2 separate regions of the Homo sapiens genome follow, and region 1 is linked to region 2. The links are contacts of gene promoters, found by promoter capture Hi-C in human tissues and cell types (Jung and others, 2019). All regions are on one chromosome and are shown on one strand. Each heading gives the region's core, a stretch centred on a gene start or on the middle of the fragment in contact. The rest is flanking DNA. Distances are from core to core; before and after follow the strand shown. Region 1 has its middle 40 kb from the start of POPDC3. Region 2 holds the start of POPDC3 (popeye domain cAMP effector 3).

Evidence for each region. The method cuts DNA at HindIII sites, captures the fragments that hold promoters and counts their contacts. A contact is called where the count stands out against the background at its distance.
Region 1: a fragment that was not itself captured here is called in contact with the fragment with the promoter of POPDC3 in region 2 in 1 of the 25 tissues and cell types used here (thymus).

The regions. Positions count from the first base shown.
Region 1 is chr6:105,217,299-105,223,238 of GRCh38, forward strand. No RefSeq gene overlaps it. Among named protein-coding and RNA genes, the nearest start is that of POPDC3, 40 kb to the left of the region's middle. The HindIII fragment of the contact is 8,659 bases long and covers 1-5,940 here.
Region 2 is chr6:105,177,293-105,183,021 of GRCh38, forward strand. POPDC3 (popeye domain cAMP effector 3) reads right to left here and starts at 2,722. Exons shown (of 4, transcript NM_022361.5): 1 at 2,541-2,722. The HindIII fragment of the contact is 10,229 bases long and covers 1-5,729 here.

The DNA.
Region 1 (5,940 bases), core at 2,793-5,292, 41 kb after region 2:
TTCTCCTGCCTCAGCCTCCCGAGTAGCTGGGACTATAGGCACCTGCCACCACGCTCGGCTAATTTTTTTGCATTTTTAGTAGAGACGGGGTTTCACCGTGATAGCCAGGATGGTCTTGATCTCCTAACCTTGTGATCCGCCTGCCTTGGCCTCCCAAAGTCCTGGGATTACAGGTGTGAGCCACTGCGCCTGGCCACAAATGTTTTTAACAAAAGAAAGAAATACTCATGACAATTACAGTCCTCATTTCTGCAGCTGGTCACATGGTTGTAGCTGGTATTGATGACTGCCTCCTTCTATCCATTTTGTATTCCCTTTGCCTTCAGTGAGCACCTCAGCAGATTTTTTTTTTTTCTGGTGGAGGGACTCAAACCTTCATCCCTGAAGTGTCTGGGCCATTTGTAGTCCTGCCTGGATTGGGCTGTCGTAGTTTCCCATTGACCTTAATCATAGGGCATGGTAATAGTAAGAGACGCCCCAGGGGATCACCAGTATTCCACGCTTATTCTTCTTACCTCTGTTATGGAGCAGTAGACTGATCTCATCATGATAGCCTGGGTCAATCACCCCAGCCAACACTGTAACTCCCTTCTTAGCCAGTTGACTTAAGGTAGGAGTAGTCCAAAGTGTTCAGGTGTAAGTCTTAACTTCCAGTTTAGTGGAATCGTTGTGTCTCCTGGTGGCAGAATTCCTCCCTCTGGAACTAAAACCTCTAGGCCACCAGAATGTAATGGGGAACAGGAAGCAAAAATTTTGCTAGTGGATCACTAGGGGTGATGGCATGTGGTACCACATCCACTTCCACCTCTTGATTCCTGGACCCGTGAATTCTGGCTATGGGAGAAACAATACCATATATTTGATGCTGATTCAGAGCATACATGGCCTTCTGGAGAACTTTGCCCCAGCCCTGCAAAGTATTATCACCTAGTTGGCATTGTAATTGTGATTTCAAAAGGCCATTCCACCATTCTATTAATCCAGCTGCCTCAGGATGATGGGGAATATCGTAAGACCAGTGAATTCCATGAGCATGAGCCCACTGCCACACTTCTTCAGCCATAAAGTGAGTGCCTTGGTCAGAGGCAATGCTGTGTGGAATACCGTGACGGTGGATAACGCATTCTGTGTGTCCACGGATGGTAGTCTTGGCAGAAGCATTGTGTGCAGGATAGGCAAATCCATATCTGGAGTAAATGTCTATTCCAGTGAGGATAAACCTCTGCCCTTTTCATGATGGAAGAGGTCCAATATAATCAACCTGCCACCAGGTAGCTGGCTGATCACCCTAAGGAACGGTGCCATATTGAGGGCTCAGTGTTGGTCTCTGCTACTGGCAAATTGGGCACTCAGCAGTGTCTGTAGCCAGGTCAGCCTTGGTGAGTAGAAGTCCATGTTGCTGAGCATAACCTCTATCACTGCCACCATGGCCACTTTTATCATGGGCCCACTGGGTGATGACAGGGGTGGCTGGGGAAAGAGGCTGGGTGGTGTCCACAGAACAGGCCATCCTATCCACTCGATTATTAAAATCCTCCTCTGCTGAGGTAACCTGTTGCTGAGCACTCACATGAAATACAAATATCTTCAGTTTTTGACCACTCAGAGAGGTCCACATCCACATACCTCTTCCCCAAGTTTCTTTGTCACCAATTTTCCAATCATGCTTCTTCTAAGTCCCTGACCATCCAGCCAAACCATTGGCTACAGCCCATGAATCAGCATATAATCGCACATCTGGCCATTTCTCTTTCCATGCAAAGTGCCCAGCCAGGTGTACTTCTCGAAGTTCTGCCCACTGGGAAGATTTCCCTTCACCACTGTCCTCTGGGGATGCCCTAGCAAGGGGCTATAGTGCTGCAGCTGTCCACTTTTGGGTGGTGCCTGCATATTGTGCAGAACCATCTATAAACCAGGCCCTAATCTTCTCTTCCTCTGCCAACGGATCATAGGGAACTCCCCATGAGGCCATCGGTGCAGGCTGGGGGAGAGAAGGCAGGGTGGCAGGAGTAGAGACCATGGGCATTTGAGCCACTTCCTCATGTAACTTAACTGTGCCTTCAGGACCTGCTCGAGCCTAATTACGTATATACCACTTCCATTTGATGATGAAATGGCGCGGTGCATGACTTACTTTATGGCTAGATGAGTCAGAAAGCACCCAGTTCATAACAGGCAGTTCAGGTCGTATGGTGACTTGATGACCCATCGTCAAACGTTCAGTTTCCACCAAAGCCCAGTAACAGGCCAAGAGCTGTCTCTCAAAATGAGATTAGTTATCTGCAGAAGATGGCAGGACCTTGCTCAAAAATCCTAGAGGCCTCTGCTGTGGTCCACCTATGGGGGCCTGCCAAAGGCTCCAAACAGCATCTCTTTCTGCCACTGACACCTCAAGCACCATTGGATCTGCTGGGTCGTATGGCCCAAGTGGCAGAGAAGCTGGCATAGCAGCCTGGACCTGGTGCAGAGCCTTCTTCTGTTCTGGACCCCACTCAAAACTGGCAGCCTTTTGGGTCACTCAATAAATGGGCCAGAGGAACATATTCAAATGAGGAATGTGTTGCCTCCAAAATGCAAATAGGCCCATTAGGTGTTGTGCCTGTTTCTTGGTTGTAGAAGGGGCCAAATGCAGCAACTTATCCTTCACCTTGGAAGGAATATCTCAACATGCCCTATACCACTGGACCCCTAGAAATTTTACTGAGGTAGAAAGTCCCTGAATTGTAGTTGCATTTATTTTCAATGCTGTGGCATGCTAATGTCTCACCAATCAGTCCAGTCTGTTTGCTACTTCTTGCTCACTGGATCCAATTAGCATAATGTCAGCAATGTAATGGACCAATGTGATATATTGTGGAAGTGAAAACTGATCAAGGTCTCTCTGAATCAGATTATGACAAAAGCTGGAGAGTTGATATACCCCTGAGGTAGGACAGTAAAAGTATATTGCTGGCCTTGCCAGCTGAAGCCAAATTGCTTCTGGTGGGCCTTACAGACAGGAATGGAGAAAAAGTCATTTGCCAAGTCAACGGCTGCATACAAGGTACCAGGAGACATGTTAATTTGCTCAAGCGATGCAAACACATCTGGTACAGCAGCTGCAATTGAAGTCATCACTTTGTTAAGCTTATGATAACACACTGTCATTCTCTAAGATCCATCTGTCTTCTGCACAGGCCAGATAGAGTTGAATGGGGATGTGGTGGGAATCGCCACCCCTGCCCCTGTGGCTTTCAAGCCCTTGATGGTAGCGCTAATCTCTGCAGTCCCTCCAGGGATGCGGTGTTGTTTTTGATTTATAATTTTCCTAGGTAGAGGCAGTTCTAATGGCTTCCATTTGGCCTTTCCCACCATAATAGCCCTCACCCTACCAGTCAGGGAGCCAATATGGGAGTTCTGCCAGCTGCTAAGTATGTCTATGCCAATTATGCATTCTGGCACAGGAGAAATGAACACAAGATGAGTCGGGGACCCAGTGTAAGTAGGACCTGAGCTAAAACTCCATTACCTCCATAAACCCCTACTTTAACTGGAGGACCACAATTCGGGTCCCCTGGAATCAACATCAGCTCACAGCCAGTGTCCAGTCGTCCCTGAAATGTCTGATCATTTCCCTTTCCCCACTGCACACTCTGGTAAAAGGCTGGATGTGTCCTTGGGGAAGGATGGGAGAAAGATTAGCATAAATTGTTGGTAGTGTAGTGGGGTTCTTCCTCAATGGGACCTGGGCCCCCCTTCATTCAAGGGATTCCAGGTCTGTAAACTGGCTCAAGTCTGGAAATTGACTGAGGGGCTATGATTCTCTGTTCAAATTAGTCTTTTGTTCATTTGACCTGGAAGTTATGCAGTAGGCTTCCTATCAATTTCACTTTTAAGAACAACATCATTAATTAGCCAATGCCAGAGCTCTATGTGAGTCAGACTATGTGATTGCTGCTTTGCCTCTGCTGTCCATTATGGTAGCTGTGCCCACCTTTCCTTTGACAGCTGGGTGCTGCCAAGTTGTCCGTGCCATCTCAGGATCCAATTATTCCCATTGTATTTAAATTTTGTAGTCGGGTGACTGTGGTTCCCACTGTTAGATCTGACATACAGAGAAGAGCAATTACAGGGCTCTTAAAAAATGCAGGTGCTGCCCTCACAAATCTATTTCACAAAGCATTGGTCAAGGGTATATCTTCTGGACCCTCCCAGCTGGGATGAGTAAGTCTAAAGTGACTAATCCACTTCAGCATCCCAATCTCCCTAAGCCTTTGGATCCCTTCCTCTACATTAAACCAAGGGAGATCAGGCATTTCCAGCTCACTCACAGTGGGCCATCTTTTAATCCATATTTCGGCTAACCAAGCAAATAAACTATTAGAACCTTTTTTAACTCCCCAAGTTGCAACATTAAATGCAGAATCCCTACTTAGTGGGCCCAAATCAATAAATTGAGCCTGATCCAACTCTGTTCCTTCCACCATTATCTCACACCCTTAATATCCATTCCCATGCCTGTTCTCCAGATTTCTGTTCATTTAAATTAGAGAACTCAAGCAGTTCTTTTCGAGTGTAGTGTACCTCCTCATGGGTCACACTCTCAACCTCACTTCTAGGGCCCTGCCAGGACTTATAGGTCAGAAGCAAACAGGAGTATTGGGGTGGCTCCTGAGGAGAATCAACATTATCTTGCCTGGCAACTGGCTCAGGGGAGGCCATCACTGTTGCCTCAGGCAGTGCAGGGTTTATCTCCTCAGAGAAAGGTGGAAAGGCTGATGCCAGTGTAGGTCAGGGAGGGAATGTTGCCACTACTGGTGATGGGGAAGCCGTTTCTTCTGGCAAAAAGAGTTCACCAGAGTTTACAAGCTCAGTGTCCCCAGCTTCATCCCACACGTCCCCATTCGAAGTTGCAGGGTCCCATTCTCCTCTAATCATTGCCCTCATTTTAACAGGAGACACCTGGTGAGGCTGTGCATGCACCTTTCATTGCAGGTCAGCCTCTTGCGTGATAAGAGCTTGTGTGTGATTTTCCACAATTTCAGCTCTTTCTCCACAGGAGATAAGACTCTCACTCAGGGCAATCTTAGAAGATTTGAGGCTCAATATCTGCTTCTGAAGCTGGGAGACAGAATCCCTGAGTTCATTATTTTCTTTCATCACTGTGTCTAGTGAACTTAGGAGCAACCAACCAGCTTCATTATGTTCCTTGGTTCTCCGCATATGGTCAAAGGTATTATGTATAGAGTCACTAAACTCCTTGTCTCTCACGAGCAGTGGATCAGGAGTGTCAAATACATTTATTTTGCCTAACTTTCTAAACAGTTTATGCCAGGGACTCTTGGTATCCTCCATACTATTAGAAGTACAGTCCTTAGTATTTTTGGGTCTAATCATTTTAAGCAGCCACCTCCAGAAACCCCCAAACCAACAAAATAACTCCATCCTTAATATTCTGTTCCTCTAGAACCACTCCTGGTACCAAAATCTGTATTAGGGTTCTCTAGAGGGACAGAACTAATAGGATAGACATATATATAAAGGAGAGTTTATTATTAACTCACATGATCACAAGGTCCCACAATCTGCAAGCTGAGGAGCAAGGAAGCCAGTCTGAGTCTGAGTCTGAGTCCCAAAGCTGAAGAACTTGGAGTCTGATGTTTGAGCGCAGGAAATATCCAGCATGAGAGAAAGACGTAGGTGGGGAGGCTAAGCCAGTCTAACCTTTCCAGGTTTTCCTGCCTGCTTTATATTTGCTGGCAGCTGATTAGATGATACTCACCCAGATTAAGGGCGGGTCTGCCTTCCCCAGCCCACTGACTCAAATGTTAATCTCCTTTGGCAACACCCACACAGACCTACCCAGGATTAATACTTTGCATCCTTCAATCCAATCAAGTTGACATTCAGTATTAGCCATCACAGCTACTTCATGAACTAACTAGAACCCAAAGCCTAAGG
Region 2 (5,729 bases), core at 1,472-3,971:
AAATGAAATCCTGGACTAGAAATAACTCAAAGTGTGGGGTTTTTTTTTCAGATTCACACTTAAATTTTTTTCTGATAATTTTGAACACATACAAAAATAGAGAAAATAGTATACAACAAATTCCCATATACCTGTTACCCAGATTCAACAATTATCAAGATTTTGCCACACAGAATTTTGAAATTAAAAGCAAAAGCTGTTATCTACAGTTCAGCTGCAATTTGTTCAGCTAGGAAACAAACACCTTCCAAAGAAGACAGGAAGAACCAAGATCAGCTGTGCTCTTTCTCTGTGCAGGTACTAATTCCTAAAACAGATCCATTTAGGAGTCACAGCAACTCTGAAACCTACATACTATTGTCAGCATTGTTCAGAGTGGAAGATGAAGCTCAGAGGGATGGAGATTCTTCTGTAAGCTTAGCCAGTTGCTTGTCCTTCCAATACTACCCCACAACACCTTCCTTCATGATCCCATCCTAGCCAATTTCAGTGTGCCAGAGTCACTGGAGGTTATTATTCTGTTGAAGAACACAAAGTAAGAAAGTCTCGCTAAAAGTCTGTGTGAATCAATCCCTGGATTCTCTGGGTTGGAGGAGGACCCTGCATTTTTATAGGTAATTTCAGTCAGGAACTTTCGGTTATTTATTTAATTTAGAAAACACCTGATGTAATTTTCCTTGTAAGACTTTTTCTTATAACTACTTAGATAAAAGGGAGAAACATTTTCTCTCTTCCTTTAAAACAATCGAATCGGTGATTCGATATACTCTTCTATTAATTGGAGGGACATTCTCTCGAGGGAGCTCATAATCCCAACTGACCAATGACCATAATTACAAAATGTGATCTCAACTGCAGTTTACAGACTTTCAGATCTATCATGGATATTTCCAAAGCAGTTTTGAAATTTCTTGCCTGCCATGTTGCTTATGTGTTATGCTCACATACTGTAGCAAATGCTTCATAACATTCTTAATTCTTCCTGGAGACTGTTTCAAAATAAGCAGGCATCAGTGCTCTAGTGTGTCAACCGTATTAGTCAGTCTTGTGGTGAAAAGTATGGGACTTTTGTTTCCCATGACACATTTTTATTTAATAGCATAGAATGTAACCATTTAGAGGCAGAAGATGCACCATGATTCAGCTATTTTGAGGGACTGATATGATTAAAGAAACTCAACTATCAAATATTTCCCATTTAAATGTATAAAATTTTGAGGACAGAGAATATCTTAGATTTCAATTAATATTTGTATCCCAAACTCCTGAAGACACACACACACACACACACACACACACACACACACACACACACACAGATTTTTCAGGACAGAACCTCAGAGATATCTGGAATCTGGGATCAGCCAGAGCTCTTCATTTTGCGAATATGGAAACTGAGATCCAATTTTTTGTTTATATTTTCTGTCTCATGTAGTTCTTGTTTGGTTTTCTATTGTCACAAAGAACAATGCCAAGTTATTGTACTCTCACAAGAGGATATTTTCATGCAACAGTCCGTAGAATTAAAAACAAGAAGGAAAAAAAATAGCCACTAAACTTAGTATGAACAGGCAACAATAATTTTTTAAGGCTGCTATAAAACTCAATTGCAGTTTGTAGGCTTGCAAATTCAAAATATCTAACTACCGGAATTAGAGTGAAAAGTCAGGAAGCAACGAAGTTTAGTAAATCAAATTGCGTCCAAAAGTGGGCTTCTAATTCTACTTTTCCATTTATTATTTACAAACAGAATTTTTCACTTTCTGCAAATGTCTTCTGGCTAAATTTTTGGCACTGCCCCTCTTACTGTATTTTGGTTGTGCCTTTCATCTTTGCCTAAAATACAGACCCTCAAAACTATACCACTGTAACCGACATGGTGATAAGACAATTTAGGGGTTGGCAAATTTCTTTTTTGGCAGGGGGATCCCCAAATGGAGAAAACAGGTCCGCGCGACCTTTGATGAGGCAGCTTTTTTGTACCCCCAACTCTGTGAGAACAGTGTGAGAGCACTGACACCAGTCAGGCCCTTTGCTTACAGACCGGGGGCGGGAGTAGGGGGGAAGGAAACTCCCGGCGCTGGCATGACTTCCCCAGGACTGACAAGGGCCCCTAGGAACGGCTTTTCTCCCTTGCAAAACTGGCCTGTTTATTTCGGCTCCAGGGTGCCTGGGGCCAGAGTAGGACCTGCAGGAAAAGATCTGGGAGGAATATTCGCCCAGAAGCCTCTAGGGCATACGACTCGCGTTCTTCAGGGGTCGGCGCGGATAGGAACCGCAGCAAAGGATCCCCTAGACCTCCGAGCTGTGAGCGGCGACACAGCCGGGACCCCAGACCCCGGACCCCAGGGCGCGGAGTTGACCGGAGCCGGGAAGGGAGCGGCGCGGGCAGCGCGGGGCAGCGAGACGCAAGCGCTCGCAGGGGTCGGCGGCCCAGCAGAAGCCGCGCCCGCTAAGTTGCCCGAAGCGGCCGCGAGGTGCGAGGGTGCGGACAGCACCGGAAGGCGGCGGACGCAGCGCCCCCGGGCTCACCTTCTTACCTTTCCTTCCCAGCCCTGCCCGGAGCTTCAGCCCGGCGCCCGCAGAAGTTTCCCGGCGGAGCGCGCTTGACCCGGGTGGCCCGCGCGGAAGCCCTCAGCGTCCCCCTCGTGAGTGCCTCGCCGCCCACCCTGCGGCGCCGGGCGCAGCGTGACCGCAGCGGGCTCCGGAGCGGCGCGGCGGCGCGGGCGGGTGCCGGGCACGGGCGCGCGCCCCGGGGCGCAGCCGGGTGGGCGGGCGCGGCGGCTGCGTCTGGGCCGGGGCAGGCGGTTCGGCCACCGGGGTGCGGGGCTGCGGAGAATCCTAGCGGCCGCTACGGACCGAAGTTTCCAAAGATGCGGTTCCCCGAGTGTACACCGCTCCCGGTTGTAACATACACCTAGTATTCACAGTCACACTAGGCAGGAGCGATGGGCTGGCTGCTGAACCAAGGCAACTGCACGCCTGCTCTCTCACCCCCGCTCCACACACACCGTAAACAAAATGAAGAGGTAAATCACCATAGTGGGGACGGGAATATTAGGGTGTATTGGACAGAGAGAGAGAGAGAGAGAGGTAAATATAGTATTTTTTTTTTTTTTAGAGATGGTGTCTCGCTCTGTCACCCAGGCTGGAGTGCAGTGGTGATCACGGCTCACTGCAATCTCGACCTCCTGGGCCCAGGCATCCTCCTGACTCAGCCTCCTAAAGCTTAGGATTGCAGATGTGAGCCACCGCACCCAACCAATAAATACGGACTGTTGCATGAAAAATAAAATATCTATATTCAAATCAATGAACATCTCTAAAAGCAAATGAGTAAAGGGCATAGACAATCATAAAAGGAAAAAATTTAAAAACACAAATGACAAAAAGCTCATATCAGTAATAACCAAATGCATACAATTTTAAAGCAATGATCAGGTGCATTTTTTCTTCCTTTGCAATTAGCAAAGTTTTGTTTTGTTTTTGTGATGAAACAAATGTGAGGGTTGGTGACGACCAGTAAAACACGCCACTAATTTAAGAATGTCATCTCCTGTCTTCTAGTTCGCTTTCATTTTATATAACCATATTGATAACAGCGACTCCAGGAACAAGAATTTATTGAGCAATCAGTGTCTTTTTTGAGCCCCAGGGTAACCACAAAAACAGTGAATATAGATGGTAAAATTAACTCCCTTTAATTGATGCTGGAACTGAGGATCAAGAAATACACATATTCTTACACCCCAGAAATGGCTAGAAACCAGTTGACTCCTAGGCCTTTGCTCTTTCTCTTCATTGCAGGGATTTACTCAAATGTTGGAAATCCAGTTTGAACTGGATGTAGTCCATAGTGTGTGTGTGTGTGTGTGTGTGTGTGTGTGTGTGTGTATATATATGTATATATATATATATACACACACACACACCTTTAAACTATGGCCAGGGAAGTGAGAAGCCCATGAACTTTGAGGTCAGATGTACTCTGGATTTAGATTTTACTTGTTTAGTGTCCTACATTTTAAAAATTTAAGGATTATATTACTGTTATTTTTAATTTAAAAACTCAGAAGCTGTTACTGTTGCCCTGGATTCTTATGATCTCCCATGATAGAGATTAACAGAGATCACCAAACATAGCAGCAAAGGAAAGTGTATTCAGCTTGTGCGCAAGGGAGTCAGCACCAAGAAAGGCAAAGGAACGGACTGCTCTGAGGATAGTGTGTGGGTCAGTTTTATAGGGTCTTTCTATAGGGGAGGGTTACATCAGGGCACCTATAGGAGGAGTTTTTCTAGTGCTTGCACAGTGGCCCAATATGCTTTTTCATACATCATATGTAGCATTAGCATTTTAAATCTCCACCCCAGGAGTAATTTTTAGCATTAAAGTGAGGAAGGGGTAAATGTAGGTTGGAGTTTAAGTCTAACTGTACAGGCGGGGATCTGGGGAAGTCCCTAGCCCTCTGAAATAGGAGCTTGCAGTTAACAGCTTCTTGGGTGTTTTGTTACCTATTGACTGAGAGTTAGATAAGCTAGAGCTTGAGTAAGGAGCTTTTATCCTTTTTCACCACACCATCTTAAAATAGCTTTCCTGTCTCAATGCAACAAAGATATCCCTGTGTGACAGATTCTTCAGTGGCCCCAATAGTTTCTGATTCCCAGTACCTGTTCATGTTCATACCTGTGTTAGATCCCCTCCTCCTAAGAGGGGTTGGGACCTGTGACTTGCTTCTGAAAATAAATATAACAAAGGTGATGGATATCACTCCCATGACCACATTACATTATAAAAGACTGTCTCTTATGAACAGACTCTCTCTAGAGACTGTCCGGTCTGGCCTGATGAAGGCAGTGGCCATGCTTGGAAAGTCCACATGGTGAGGAACCATGGGCAGCCTCTAGGAGCTGAAAGGCAGCTTCCGGCCCATAGCCAGCCAGCAAGAAGTCCTACAAACTCCAGGAAATGAATTCTGTCAACAGCCTAAGTGAACTTGGAAGTAAATCTTTCCCCAGTCAATCATCCACATGAGAACACAAACCAATGACACCTTAATTGCAGTTTTGTGAAACCCTGAGCAGAGGATCTACTTAATCCATGCCTGGACTCCTAAATGCACCCCCCGACCCAAATTTTGAGAGTATATACAGAGTGCGATCCCTCTTTGAAAATTTTGTGTTAAATACTGCTGCCCTGCTGCATTCTGATTTTTCTCTTTCTTACTCCTTCACATGTATTTTCTTGCCTTGATCATGGCAGAGTTCTCTTTCTCTGTATCCCTCATTTTTTGTTATTATACATTTTATTGTATAAGTAATACATGAATATAATTCAATATACTAAGATATATTGCTTGGCATTATACTGTATCTGCCAACTTTCTTTTCCAGACAACAAAATACCTTGAAGTTCATTTATCTTTTCACATATATAGTATATATAAAATTCTTCTTTTAAATGACTATATACTATTATATTATTAGTATGTCTACCTGAAATAATGGAAAGGATCAGAATCCAGTTTAAAAGCATTTTTCCAAGTGAAAAGCTGAGAATGCCATTCAGATAACACAGACTCCAAAGGAATGGAGTTAGTGCTCCAAAGTTAAGATCTTGCATATACCAGCAGAAAACAAAGAAACTTAGTAGGATTATAACATTTTCTATACAAGGCTGGTTTATGACTTACAACAATTTAATTAGTTACAATTTGTTTTCTTTTCCATAC